Regions from separate parts of the Homo sapiens genome. Here region 2 is linked to region 1. Evidence: promoter capture Hi-C in human tissues and cell types (Jung and others, 2019). All regions are on one chromosome and are shown on one strand. Each heading gives the region's core, a stretch centred on a gene start or on the middle of the fragment in contact. The rest is flanking DNA. Distances are from core to core; before and after follow the strand shown.

Region 1 (7,568 bases), core at 1,640-4,139:
GAAAGCGCTGCTGGCATTCACTGGCCTACTGAGTTCATCACAGCTGTGCTTGTGCATCTCTCTCAAGCTCCACTTTCCACTGAATTGGAAAAGATTTGAATTTTTGGTTGATAATCTGCCACACCCTTGCTTTGCCTCATCTTTCCAGGCACTCTCTTTGTTAAAGGAGATCCAGATTAATCAGTGCTTTAGTTGGTGCAGGTATTTAGATTTGTGTTAAAGCTCCAAATGCAATCCAAAAAGCAAAATGACATGTTTATGTGTCCTGGTTAACATCAGTGAAGTCAGGGAAGTATGGGAAGAAATGTGTGGCTAGATAACAATGAGGACAGCAGTTCCTGGATGGCATAATAGGATTCAGAAGTGTATGCATTTCACCTAGTTCAGACCCTGTATTAAGAAATGCTTTGACCCCGTATTAGGAAATGCTTTGACAGGAGGTAGAAAAATAGGATCTGGGACACAGAATGCAAAGGATCCTAGTGCAAAACCTCCATATTCGAGGTAGTGAAGAATCGTAAATCAGAATATCTGGAGAATGAATTCTCTAGGTCTCTCCTGAAGACCTTAAAATACAACAATCCTTCCATATGCAAAACATCAGCTAATGTTTCTTAAGTGAGTGCATCAATCATGAATTTTTCTCATGAGTATAAGGCTTTTATTTGAATAGCTAAGCAAATTAAGAATTTTAGAACAATAGTAATTTTATTTATAATGCCTAAAATAAAGCATAACAAGCATTATTTTAAAAATAACATTTCTAATTTTTCACAGTGGAAAATAAATCTAATGAAGAAATTCAATAAATTTCAGCTTTTATAGACCACCTAAAACAATGAGAGAAATCTAATATAGATATATGAATTCTACGTAGATACAAAGACATCATGAGAAAAACTATGTTTCTGAATTGGTTTGAACACAGGAAATATTTTTTGTGTACAGGACAAAGATGTCTGAAAGACAGAAAGATGCATATAACAGCCTTTCCCCAGCATCTCTACTGTGATCCAGTAGAAAAGCTTATATTCATGACCATTCTCAACAGTTACTTTTCTCCCACGCCCCCAAGCAGTGACTCTCCAATCTAAAATAAAGATACACAAGAGGTTGGTCTCGTTCTAGTTTTCCTTTCCTGTCATCAAATGATGTCATCTACATTGAGATGTCTTGGTTTGTGTCCTTGTGACTGAAGATATAAGAAAGCTTGGGAGGCCGAGGCGGGCGGATCACGAGGTCAGGACATCAAGACCATCCTGACTAACACGGTGAAACCCCGTCTCTACTAAAAATACAAAAAATTAACCAGGCGTAGTGGCGGGCGCCTGTAGTCCCAGCTACTCGGGAGGCTGAGGCAGGAGAATGGCGTGAACCCGGGAGGCGGAGCTTGCCGTGAGCCGAGATTGCGCCACTGCAGTCTAGCCTGGGCGAGAGAGGGCGACCCCGTCGCAAAAAAAAAAAAAAAAAAGATGCAAGAAACAAGAAAGCAAGTTTGCCACTGTCCATGCTTACAGGATTCATGTACACCTGGGAATATACATATGACATGAGTTGAGTGAAAATTTAGTAACACAAATTAGAAGAAAGAGAAAGATGAAAATTAGTTTAAAGGAGGTAATTTACTTAAGGAGGAAAGTTTTGCATTGAGGCATAAGGAAGTGACTTCCATTAATTGGTGTGAAATGGGGAGAATTTTATGTGCACAGGCATAGAGACGGACATGTTTAGGTGAAGGTGAAGAAAATTAGTTCAAGTGACCTTGATTAGAATTGAAATGTCCACCGTAGATTATAGAGATAGATGAACTAACTATGAACTGATGATTAGGGTGTAAAGAGATATCTCCATTGCCAGATATAGCCTTATACTGTGGACAAGCATATTTTTCCTGCAGAGATTTATCAAAGACCTATAAATGGTATTTGCCCCTCTTTCAAATATGACACAAAAATTACTGCTTAGATAGATCCAGAAATACATTGGAAAGTTTTGTGGATGAGGATCTGGAAAGTATACACATAAAAGTCTAAATTAGAAATATTTATACTAATCTTTAGAGTAATGCAGAAAAAATGACCACTTTCTCTGGTACTCTTTTGCTATTCTATGTGATAAACTCTTTCTCTTCCAGTTTCCTAAAAAGTTATGTCATGAAAAGGCTGAATTTTTCTCTAGAAAAATCTGCTCTGTCTTTCCCAGGCAGCATAAAAATTGGAAATCTCACAAGAAAGCACTCTGGCTTGCTAAAGAAATTTGTGAGAAATGGAAACAGCTATAGATAAGTATCTAACTTTTAGGAAGCCATTCAAACATTGCTGAAATACTTTGTCTTTTGATATTTGCCTGAAACTTAACTTCTAGGACCCAGGGTGGGTGGATGAGTCGAAGGGGCATACGGTGGCATTTCTTTCCGTGAGTCTCTTACAGTCTCCTATTTAAATTGAGTTAGGATTACTTCTGGCAAAATCCCAACATAAAAATCTTCTAGGAAGATCAGTTCTGTAAATTAGACATACTAGATAAATGGGCATCAAGCAGTTTTTCAAAATTATGCAGTTGTTAACTTCATAAGGGGAAATAAAAATGTATGCATTTACATTGTATGTATTAAAACAAGGCAGAGCATTTCTATACGTTCCTAAGTTATACAAACATATATGTAAGAGTGAAATATGTAAAAAAACTTTTACATAAGCAGATGCATACAAACTCCAGATGTGCTCTTTTTCTTACTGTGGGTTGTGTCTTCTATAAGGGAAAAAGAAATATTTATCATTTCTTTTACTGCTGAGGGGATGGGTGCGGCTCTCATATTTCAGAAAGGGGCTGGAAAGTGAGGGAAGCCAAACTTTTTCCTATTTAAGGCCAAAGCAAAGGAATCTCAGTGGCTGAGTTTTATGACGGGCCCGGTGCTGAAGGGCAGGGAACAACTTGATGGTGCTACTTTGAACTGCTTTTCTTTTCTCCTTTTTGCACAAAGAGTCTCATGTCTGATATTTAGACATGATGAGCTTTGTGCAAAAGGGGAGCTGGCTACTTCTCGCTCTGCTTCATCCCACTATTATTTTGGCACAACAGGAAGGTGAGTAGGTACTGATTTCAAGAAACTTTATGGGATTTTTGTCTTTCTTCTCCTCACAAAGAGGGGTGTAAAGGGGAAAATCAGTTGCCTGATTCAAGATAATTTCCTCTATAAGCTCCAGATTGTGAAACGTTGAACTGACCATGGCTGTGCTTTTTACATTACTTGAAAAATAATCGCGTTATGTGTGTTTTTAAGAGTTCTGTGGTTAAGATAAGATGTTCTTGTACTAACTTGTTTTCATGTTAAAGGCACTGGAAACTTTTAAAAATGGCTTTAAAATTTTTCCCTCCTGGATTGTTAACATCTTGGAATACTTCCCCAGGCAGTCTGGAAGTTATTGGTCTCTTGCAATAATTTTATGTTCCTCTTTGTCTGCTGGATTCTTTGTAAGGTTAGAATATTGAGCATTGTTTTCTGAATAAGAATGCCTTTCAAATATCATGGATTAAGAACAGTCTAAAGGAAGATTCTACGCATTATCAGAATCATTGAATATATTTCTGTAAAATGGCTACAAGATACCTATAAACATTCTTCAAAGGGATCAAACTGCTAAAATATTTTATTATTCCTGTTTTTATTTTGTTTCAAGAATGATTGATTAATTCATCTTTTCTAGTAGCTTGATATTAAGGGACTAATATTTTCCACATATTCTACGTTTTAACCACATTCGCATTAATGAAGAAAATATTTTTTAAAATGTTTCAACAGGAGGTTTGACTTTGCTGCAAACAAGGTAAAGATACTAGTACTGTTTGACTTCAGAAAGCTGTTTTGCTATATTTTCTAATAATTGCATGTAATGTTTTTCATATTCTAATTTCCCCTAAAAACACATTTGTCTCATTATTTATGTGAAAATATTCTTTTATTTACCATAGTCATGAAAATGCTGAACAAATTGGAATACAAACTTCCATAGAAATAAATATTTAAGTGCTAAATGTAAAGATAGCTAGGAGAAATTATTAGACAATTTTTATTGCACATAACTAAACATGGTTACATTTAAACATATAGATTTTGCAAAGGACACTGCATGAAAATTTGGTTTTTGTTTGTAATATCAAATGTATTTGTTGTCCTCATAGCTAATACATGTAAATGTGTGTATGAGGGGAGGGGTAGATATACAATGAAATGTCTTCAGTTATATTCAGCCCATGGACACAAAAGAAAAGAAACACCCATTTTCCTTGTTCCCTTAATTTCCTCTCCTCCTTACCCCTCCTCTCCTTCGCTTTGCCCTCCTCCTTATCTCTCTCCACCCCTTTTGGCTCCTTTAGACTTCTCTTCACTCATCACCCCACCCCTTCCTAGGCAAGCCCATATCTACTCCTCTCTCCTCCTCTGTCTTCCCTGCCTGTTACTCCCTCCCTACTCCCCATGTGGCCTCCTTATGCCTCCATTTCTTTTTTTTAGTTCTCTCTCTCCTTGCCTCCTCACCCTTTCTTTCCCCTGAACTCTCAATCCTTCTTCCTTTCTCATTCCTCTCCCCTTTTCCTCCCTATCCTGCTCTTCCCAGGAGATGCTACAACTCACAGTCCTTTTTTAGGATACCAAATGACTACTATCCCCCACCAACCATTTATTGAAAAGACTACAAACTTAGGGGTTTTAGCTCAAAAAATTGCAACATATTTGTAGTTGCCTCGTGGTTGCAAGCTTTTTATAAGCACTGTGGCTATTTTTCTTCCCAATCCAACTTTAGTGGGGGGGTGTTTGCCACTTACAGTACCTTGACATCACATTAAGTTCTGTTTATTTCCCTCTTTCTCTTTAGATGCAAAAAATAATCAATAAGTATAAAATTTTGCTGATATGTGTTTGTGTGTTCTTAAGCTCAAAAAGAGTTGAAAGAGAACTGTTCAGCCTATTTTTTTTGTCATGAGTAAAAGTAAAGTTGAAGTGACTTAAGACAGTACATCTTATGTTCCCTGTGGGTTTTACAAGGAAATTCTGCTATTAGATAAGCTTTGGAAAAGTTACAGGAGGTATCTGAATATACAGCACACTGAGAGCTGTCATAAAGTTCTGGGGTGGGGTTTCTTATATATGCCCTCATAACTTCAGAGACGGCACAGCTCTAATGAACACTCACTTCTAGTTCACTCACAGGCATTTTCTGGATACAAACAAGTCCTCAAAAAGAATTTTGGTCGTCTTACAAATTTGTGAACATTGTATTTAATTCATGTGTTTTAATCCACCAATGGAGAAACATAGTCTGTTTTATATTTCCTGTAGATTATAAACATGCCAAGTTTTAAGTACAAAGATGCGTCACCTAGTGGCTGACAAGCCAGGTTACCATTTACATAACGAATGCCAATATTAATGTTATGTAGCTGGCTTTGGTAGTTTATAATGAGCTTTAAAAAATTCATATGCGTGAATTTTAAATGTTAACACTGCTCTCCTAAGGAAATTAGTATGTTACGGATAAATATTGCAAACACATATACTGACACGAAAACACAATGGTAACAATATTCAGAGTCTTTTTGGAAATTAGCTTAAATGTTACGGCCACTTAAAAATTCTACATATGACTATTGTTTAAATACATTTTTCATGTCTCTGATGTAGTCCTTATTTGACATAAGTATTTTATTCACTGCTTAATTGTTAGATAGATTATAGACAGCTGTTACTAAGTAATACTGCTCCATTAGGGCAGAAACAGAAACTTTATTTTAATTAAATGTGTACTAATGTTTGAGTTTCTATATTTTGCTACAGTGATAATTCCAGTAAAATAAACTGTAGGCCTCTAGTTGTTTTAGAATTTTAAAACTGTAAATGGACTCAGAGAATCAGTTTCTTATTAGACGTCATGAGAGTATATTTTTTTCATTATGCTTTAAGAGGGAATTTGTAACTTGCTCAGGTAACATTCAAGTTTTCTGGTTTGTGTTTGTCCCTACAATTAAACACACTGAACTAACAGGAAAAGGTTACATACATTTAGGAACAATTGCACTTTTAAAGGGAGAGAATGCATAGTTGCTCACATATCTCAGTGTCAGTCACCTAACATGGATCAGTGCTTTATTTGAGATTACAAAACTAGAAAATGACGGAGTCAAGGCTAGGACCAATATTCTGTTCAGTCTTAGATAATTATAGAATACACATTAAAATCAGATATTTGAATTTTCTTAATTTTGTAACTATTTGTCATTGAAAGGAGATACTAAAAAAATTATATATCGTCCTAGAAAGTACATGAACTAATAATGCATTTCTAAAGGTGAAAAAAGAATAGGTATTTTTCTGTTTAATATTCAATTTTATAGAGAGTAGTACGTTAATTTTTTTAAACCCCAGAAGCTCAGGATCTTATCATTTTAAAAGAAATTATCACCAGTTCTGTGTGAGTAAATAAAGTATTATAACACTTTGTGTTTTTCATCCATGATACCTTGTATTTACTTACCTGAGCTTTTTTTCTAGGGAAAGAAAAATGCTCAGGTAATAACAGAGCCTTGAAAAATTTGGATTTTCAAAACTACCTATTTATGTATAGGCCTTTAGATCATCTGATGTTGAATACTCTTTAAGTGATCTAAAGGCCTACATATAAAAAGGTATTTTTATTAAATTCTGGAATTAAACATTTCAGCATTACAAGAAAAGAAAGCAAATCCACTGGAACAATTCTGGGAAAGAAGGAAAGACTGTGATTAAATGCCTCTTAACTACTTCAGATTCCTGGATTGATGTCTTATCTACAGGCTTCTTTTTAAAAATCAAGAATGATTGGCTGTGAGTTTACCAGGATTATAGTTGAGGCTAAAGGACAGCTCCTCAGGAAAGCCCCTGTTCTACATCTACGGTCACATGCTGGACCTTGAGTTGTCACTCAGAGAAAAGAGTGCCATCTACCGAAACTCCACAGTTTCCATTGTGAATGGCTTCTTTGGTGCAGAGTTCCAAAAATTATGTAGCCCAGCTCTTTAATTTTGTAACATCTAATGATATCACCGCCTTGAAGTGATTAAAGTAGATTGCTTAAAGAATTAAAGCTTTAAAGATGAAAGATGTTATTGCTTTTGCTGGACATGAGGAACAGTTGTAAAGTTTCCAGGTCTACAATAACTTTCTGGAACCCTCTCAGTGAACTGTTTCTTGTAAAAGTTTTCCCTAAGATAAAAGCTCAATCCCATTGTTTCCACACTCAAAAAAAAAAAAAAAAAAAAGATCATATAGTGTAAAAAAAAACTCTCCAGACTTTTCAAAGGGGAAACTTTGCCTGTTTCATGTCAAGATGACAACGGAAAAAATGAGATAGCTATTCTTACATAAATCATTTGTGAACTGCAGTTGGGGGAGTTACATTAACCACCAGAGTTTCAGTCTGTGTCTAATGAAAACACAGCAGAAGTGGATTCCTTTCAGATTAACTAATAAAACCCTTGTTTTTTTCCATGACTGAGGTCAAGCACTGCTGTTTAAAATGTAGTCTTAATGAACA
Region 2 (7,568 bases), core at 1,624-4,123, 91 kb before region 1:
AGTCTTAACCCCCAGTACCTCAGAATGTGACTGTATTTGGTGATAAGACTTTTAAAAGGATGATTAAATTATTTACAGCTGTTAGGGTGGGATCTAATCTACTCTGATTGATGTCCTTATAAAAAGAGGAAATTCAGACACACAAAGAGACACCAGAACTGTGTGTATAGACAGGAAAGATCTTGTGAGGACACAGTGAGATGCTGACCATCTGCAAACCAAGGAGAGAGGGCTCAGGAAAAACCAAACTGAGACACATTGAGACTTGACTTCTAGCCTCCATAACTGTGACAAAACAAATTCCTGATGTTTAAGCTGCCCATTCTGTGGTATTTTGTTATAGGAGTCCTAGCCAACTAATACAACTGTTAACTCTGAGGGATGAGGGAAATAGAAATATCAACAATTTTTGTCAGGCTGTTTAGTTTAACTGGATCAATAGTGATGCCTTGCTCTAACAGGAAATACTAAAAGAGGATCAAGGTTAGGCAGATCATTTTTTCTTTAATTAAAAATATTCATTGTTCACCCACTGTTACTAGACACTTCTAGACACCAGGATAGAAAAGAGACAAAGCAAGCAGTCACTGACTTCATGGAGCTTATATCCCATGTAATGTGTGGGTCTGTTGTTCCAAACAGAGATCTGAGGTAGAGATAGATGCATTAGTAAGTGTTCTCCAGAGAAGCAGAACTAACAGGAGATAGATTAGATGGATGATTGATAAATAGATAGATAGATAGATAGATAGATAGATAGATAGATAGATAGATATACAATTGTTTCACAAAAGCCAAGGGAAGACAGGGTTTCAGAGACGAGGCAGTAGTCAACAGAATGGAACACTGGTGGGAGCACAAGTGAAATGAGGGGTGAAAAATTTGTGTTGGAATTGGTGTCATGGAGGTCAGTTGTAAGCTAGGTAAAAGCTGGATGGGTAGAGGGTCAAGACTGAAGAATGTGCTGAGTAGATAGTAAAAAGTGATGACATGTAAAAAGGGAGAACAGTCATCTTTTCCAAAAAATGTATGTGTGGATGGGCAGAGAGAAGGAGATGGTTGACTGAATGAGAAGAGGGTAAATCTACACACAAAAGAAGAAGTTTAATAAATCATGTGGGGCTGCTGAGAATAAAAACATAAAACTCTAGTCACAGGTGATGGGAAGGATTGGCCCCAGGTAAGAGGGGGAGCCTCATTATGAGACGTAGGCAGCTTGGACATGTGGTTTCAGGAGAAGGCAATATGTATAGTGGTCAAAGGCATAGACTCAAATTAGAATCCTGAGTGAAAACCTGACTGTCGCTTGCTAGCTGTGTGACTGTGGGCAAAGTATTTAAATTATCTGTGCCTCTATAAACAGGTGATAGAAATAGCGCCATTTTCCTAGGGTAGTTGATATATGTAAATTTTAAAAACTAGTGCCAGGCATATGGTAAGCATTATGTATATATTTATCATTGCTATTATTACTATCTCTCTGAACTAGAAGTCAGATAATCAACTCATAGTGAGAGTGAATGGGGGTGGGGGTTAGGGTTTGATGTAGGTAGAGAGGGTTAGAGAAGGAAATGCTGAGAGTAGGAAAGTAGTACAGAGATGCTGTAGTTGAATTGTCTAGTAATGTTGAATGTCCTTTCAAGGTTGGGATTATGAATTTGTCATAGACCCAGGTTGTTCTGTCATGTGAATATTCCAGCAGTGCTTAGCCATTTGGAAACAGAAGCAGAGAAAGTAGATATCTGAATACAATTAGATTGAGTTTTGCCAGATAGACTTTTAACACCAAGAGAGAGTAGGGCAAGGGAGTTTGAAAATGTTGGCAGAAAACTGTGTTTCATGGACTGGATAAGTCCTGGATAAGGCTGGATAAAGAAGGACATGAAGGAAAGAGCTGGAGGTTGAATTTGGACACAGTAGAGGAGGCTCATAAGACAAGTATTATGACCATACATCATAATACCACATCTGGCTTGTCAAGATGACTATCTATTAACTATAATTTAAACCCAACATGTATCAGTTAAAATAGGATTTGGTGTGATCTAAATAAGCAGTAGTAGTGCAAGGTAGAATAATTTAGTGTGTCTTAGTCTGCTAAGAAATAGTAAGTAAAAGTACACCAGTCGATTACATGAAAGCCCATTAGGTGATATCTTTAGGACAGAATCCCTTTATCAAGATATTATATGAGAGAAGAAAAAGAAAATGATAAGTTAGCATTACTTCCCACAGGCAGTGTAACTTGCTGGATGAAAAGAGTGTAGTAATTGAGGAAGATTTTTGAAAAGGCAGGGGGTAGAAGAGAATTCACTCAATTTGCATTGTTTCTTAGTGAAACATAGGGTTTTAAAATGGCTCTCAATGTTACTACTCAAAAGAAAAAAGTCATACCTTGGCTTGATATGCTGAGATCCTTTGAATGAGTGATGTAGTCGAGCTAATATGACTGTAATTTTCTCTCTAACTTCTGAGACCCTTGAGAAATTCCCTATGTGATCTCAAATCAATTATTTCATTGCATGCTAAAGATTAAAATAATAAAGAAGAACAATTATTTTCCTCTTGGAAGAACAAAGATTTACATACATAATTTGGAGTGCTCTAGATAGGATGCTAAAATCTGAGCCAGACTTTGGATTCTTTTAGGAAAACCAAACTTTAAAGTGTTACAGCTTTAAATTTCATAAAGCCTGAAAATTCTCAACGCCATTACCTGTTAAGGATTTTCCATAATAATATTGAATATATAATAAAAACTCACAATTATTATTCAGAGACATTATGTAGAAATAACTGAAATATATATTTGTGTCCAGAGGATTCATTCACGTATTGTTAAGGACTAAGAAGGTTTTGTGAAGCCTAGAAGAACAATATTGCATCTAACAAAACAGGTCAGTGTGAAGTTGCTTTATTGCCAGGACAAGGCAACATCCCAGTAGCCATTTTAGATCAGAGGATGAAGAAATAAATGGGCTCAAGACACAAAAGGCTTGCGAGAATACCATTTCCTCAGGGAGGGAAAAAGGGTTAGAGAAAGATATAAAGGGTCAAAAATATTTTTAAATTTATGCTAATGTTAAATAATTAAATTTAATTCTAACATTACTTAGCACATTCAGCAGATGATATGAAACGAGAAAAGATGCAATTGCACAAATCAGCAAATGGATCCCTTGCTTAGTTAAATGTTTTAGCAATCGGTTCAGTTGGAATACAGTGGTTAATTAGAGTAGATTCTGGCTAGAAACCCAGTCACCAAGTCTCATCTTGGTTTTTATAATAACCATGGGCAAGAGTTCAGCCTCTCTAAGCCAGTTTCCCCACCTATAAGAAGCACTTAAATTTAATTGATTTCTGTTACTCTTTTCAGCTCTAAGTTCTGTGACTGTTTCTGGGGCTCCAGTTTTCTTGATCAGCTGCAGCAACACTCCCAGCTTAATAACTTAGAGGTATTCACAAGCGCAAGATTATCTGTTACTTGTTGGAGATAGAATCCAAGAAAGGCTTAATTTCATGATTTTAAAGAGACCCAAGGAAGTGTATTTCCTCCATGTGGTTTTGGTTTAGGAAAATGTAAAGTACAACTCTGACTCAACTTGTGGGTGGTCAAATGGGGGGAAAGTAAACACAGGCTAGTTCTGTAATATGTTAGGGCATTGCAACTTTGTGTTTGTAGAAGCAGCCTGAGAAAAGATAAACAAACAAATGCTCAAATCAAGTGAAAAAAGAAAGCTTTTTGTTAGATCCAGCTATAAACACTTGGAATACACTGCTTCATAAAATGGAGAAAGCTAAGATGTCAGTCTGATTATTTTACCATTCTCCTCCACTCCCATCACCCAAACAAATATACACACAAAGAATCCACCTAAAAATTATCTTTGCAGCATTAATAATCTGCAATTTAATGTCAAGTAAACCAAAATCCCATTTTACAAAGTTCTTGGTCACGGTTTTTAATATGTATTTTATCCTAACATTTTTAAACTATATGTTATTTTTATATGATAGAATGTAACAGAGAGTGGCAGAGGCCCACATAGAACCTACATGTTTATTCAAAAGGAGTCACATTATTACGACATTGAAGCTTGTCTGGAGAAAATGTAATGGAAAATTTGAGGGATATATTGCGAAAGTTTTCCCACTGACTTTTTTTTATAGAATATTGACTGTATACCTCTAAAAGATAAGATTTTGTTTCACATAGATTATATTATTTAAAATCTTACAAAATGTATTAGTTATCTAAACATAAAAAACATTAAAAATCAATTTAATGCCATCTTGCTAACTAATAAAGAAAAATCAATCTGTAAGGGAGTAAATCGCTAAGAAAATGCCCTCTTTGACATGATTTGTGATTGAGGAAGTGTATAGAGGATATGTGGTATTTCTCGTTTATAATGATTTCAATTAATTCAAATAACTTTTGAAAGGAAATTATTAGTGTAATTTTGGGATTATACATCAAATTCCATACTTGGAAGTGTTGGAAGTATTATTTTTATTACAAAGTTAGTTTTTATATTTTTTAAAAAACACCTCCTTTCATTATCAAATGTATCTGAAGAAAAAAATAGGATGCTGAAATCTTAAAATTAGAAAAAGCATTTTATTTGAGTCAGTTTACTTATTTTTCTTGCCGTTTTCTCTATGTATGTATAATATAACCATACTCATAGGTGTGTATAGATGAGGCTAATGCTAAGACAGGAGCTAAAATAACAAGACTCAAACCGCAGTTATTGGCCCATAGGTAGCTCATTTCTGTGCTGAGATTACTTAAAATGTCTAATTTCTATTTAAAAGTTCAGAAAATTAGCAATCTATTTTATTTTTAAAAGACGAATACTGGCCCAATGTAATCCCAGCACTTTGGGAGGCTGAGGCAGGTAGATCACCTGAGCTCAGCAGTTTGAGACCAGCCTGGCCAACATGGCGAAACCCCATCTCTACTAAAAATACAAAAATTAGCTGGGCGTGGCGGTGCACGCCAGCTATTCGGGGGCTGAGGCAGGAGAATTGCTCGAACCTGGGAGGTGGAGGTTGCAGTGAGCCGAGATTGTGCCACTGCACTCCAGCCTGGGCGACAGAGTAAGACTCTGTCTCAAAAAAAAAAAAAAAAAAAAATATTGGAGGTGGGGTGTTTGGGGGGGGACGTCCATCAACTTTCAACCCTTTAATTAATTAGCTAATAATGTTTTATTGTTTTACCATGCAAAAGGACATTGTGATTTGTAGTTAATTTCAAAGACATTTCTTTGAATTTAAGAAAGTTTGACTTTAAGCTTTTAAAATAATTTAGTCAGTCGATTCATTCCTTTGTCAACAAGAAGGAGGTAGGAGGGTCTTACACACTTTACTGTAAAAGAATCTGTGACATACAGGTAGATTATAAATTACTTTTGAAACATCCATTGCAATTTGCTTCTCTCTCTCTCTCTTTCTCTCTCCCTCCCTCTGTTTTTAGTATTGTATTGGTGCCACACGTGGTTGTGGTGTATTATTTTACTCTTTCAAAGTGATGTCTTTCATAGTTCTCAGATTTAAAGAGCTCTTAAAATGAAAAATCAATTATTTTAAATATTTAGTTGCTTGAACTTTTTTTCTCCTCCAGGTAAGCAGATAAAATGTGGAATGAATGGATTAATTTTTTTTGTATGACTTAGAACCACATGTGGTCTATGTGTATAGCTAGGAATCATGCATTTTTATAAATGTAAAAAAAAGTCAAATTCAAATTTCTAAAATGAGAAGTTTAATTTTTCACCTAAAAGCCCTGTTATTAGATGGAAATTCTCTATATTGGCCAAAAAAAGCTTCCCATAACCACTGAATATATGTGTGGGTTGCATTTTGTTTGCGTTTTATTTCTACCTATACTTGAGGCAAACACAATAGTCTCAGAGATTTCTCAGCTATGGGGGAACATGCACTTATTCTACTTACAATTATTCATTGAGTGCCCATTATCTGCTAGTAACTGTATTAGCAAAATAGGAATAGAAAAATGAAACATATCTCTTGTAACTGATGACTTTTGTGGAAGAACTCTTAGCAAGCGAGATGCAATTAGTAGCTATCAGCAATTTAGCATATGTTAATTATTTGGTATTTGGTTTAGTTCAATATCAAATTTGGAAGGCACAGTGTATAGGAAAGTTTTGTCAGAGGTAGAAGAAGGGAGATCTGATGCATGGAATAGTGGATATAGGTGGAACATTGAGATAAGAACATCCAGTTGAAGCACAGGAGATTCAAATGGGGAGAAACTTCAAAACATAGAATATACTTAAATTTGGCCAGGCGTGGTGGCTCACACCTGTAATCCCAGCAGTTTGGGAGGTCCAGGCAGGCAGATAACTTGAGGTCAGCAGTTTGAGACCAGCCTGGCCAACATGAAAAAACCCTGTCTCTACTACAAATGCAAAAATTAGCTGGGCATGGTGGTGCATGCCTGTAGTCCCAGCTACTTGGGAGGCTGAGGCAGGAGAACAGGAGAATCACTTAAACCCAGGATATGGAGGTTGCAGTGACCCGAGATCACACCACTGCCCTCAAGCCTGGGTGACAGAGCAAGATTCTGTTAAAAAAAAAAAAAAAAGAAAAGAAAAGAAAAGAAAAGAAAAGAAACCTAAATTAAGTTCAGGGGAAGAGAAGAATAATACCAATAACATTTACTTTTATTTTAAACACACAGATTTTAATCACATATGATGTTCCATTGGACTCTCACACCAACCTCAGGATGTGTTATTATCTCTGTTTTACTGAGTACTGAGTCAAAACCCCAGATTCCAAGTGGTAAAGTGCCTTTTCCAAAATCACATCACATTAAGTGGAAGAATCAGGCCTGGAATACAAGTCTTCTTCCTACATGTCCATTTCTCTTCCCGCTACAATTACAGTAGCAACTTTTCAAGCATTATAATTTGACACACACCCAGGTCTATGTTTTTGATCTATCCAGAACAAGTAAACACAAAATCTTCTTTAAAAAAAAATGGCCACCAACTTCTGAGATTGTAAACATTTCAGCTCTTGCAATCCAATCTAATCTCTCTAGCTCTGTTTGTTTGTAATATTTGTACTTGCTAATATATGCTTAAAATCTAGGATTAGTAACTTTGAAATGTTTTTAGTAAAAAAAAGATTTCAGTTTGTCTAAAAGTAAGGAAAAAGATGACAAGTAAGGAAGTAAGGGAAAAGGAAAAGGGAAGACAGAAAGTTGTCTGCATTTTAGACTTGTCAAAATGAACAAAGCAAATGAAATATAGTAACAATATCAATTAATAATGACTCAAAGAACATTCAGTTGTATTTGGACGGATAAAAATACAAGATACATTGCAGTATTCTATCAGTAGTAGCTATTATTCAGTAGAGATGCATGAGATGCATTTTTTTCTGGTTGTAAGAAATGATATTTTTGCCTTCATAGTTCAAGAAAAAGAGGACTTTTATTACTGTTCAATGGGCATTTAGTAGTAAATGTCTTTGGAGAAAATACCCAATAATTATTAAATGAAGAGAACATCTCCAAGGAAGAAGAAAACACA

Evidence for each region. Contacts are between HindIII fragments. The study calls those that stand out against the background at their distance.
Region 2: a contact is called between a fragment that was not itself captured here and the fragment with the promoter of COL3A1 in region 1, in 2 of the 25 tissues and cell types used here (bladder and mesenchymal stem cells).

The regions. Positions count from the first base shown.
Region 1 is chr2:188,971,484-188,979,051 of GRCh38, forward strand. COL3A1 (collagen type III alpha 1 chain) reads left to right here and starts at 2,890. Exons shown (of 51, transcript NM_000090.4): 1 at 2,890-3,085. The coding sequence starts at 3,007. The region is part of intron 1 of LOC105373791 (a long non-coding RNA gene); the gene reads right to left. It overlaps MIR1245A (microRNA 1245a), which reads left to right and starts at 6,609; the gene lies at 6,609-6,678. It overlaps MIR1245B (microRNA 1245b), which reads right to left and starts at 6,678; the gene lies at 6,610-6,678. The HindIII fragment of the contact is 6,513 bases long and covers 1-4,910 here.
Region 2 is chr2:188,880,657-188,888,224 of GRCh38, forward strand. No RefSeq gene overlaps it. Among named protein-coding and RNA genes, the nearest start is that of COL3A1, 90 kb to the right of the region's middle. The HindIII fragment of the contact is 3,646 bases long and covers 1,051-4,696 here.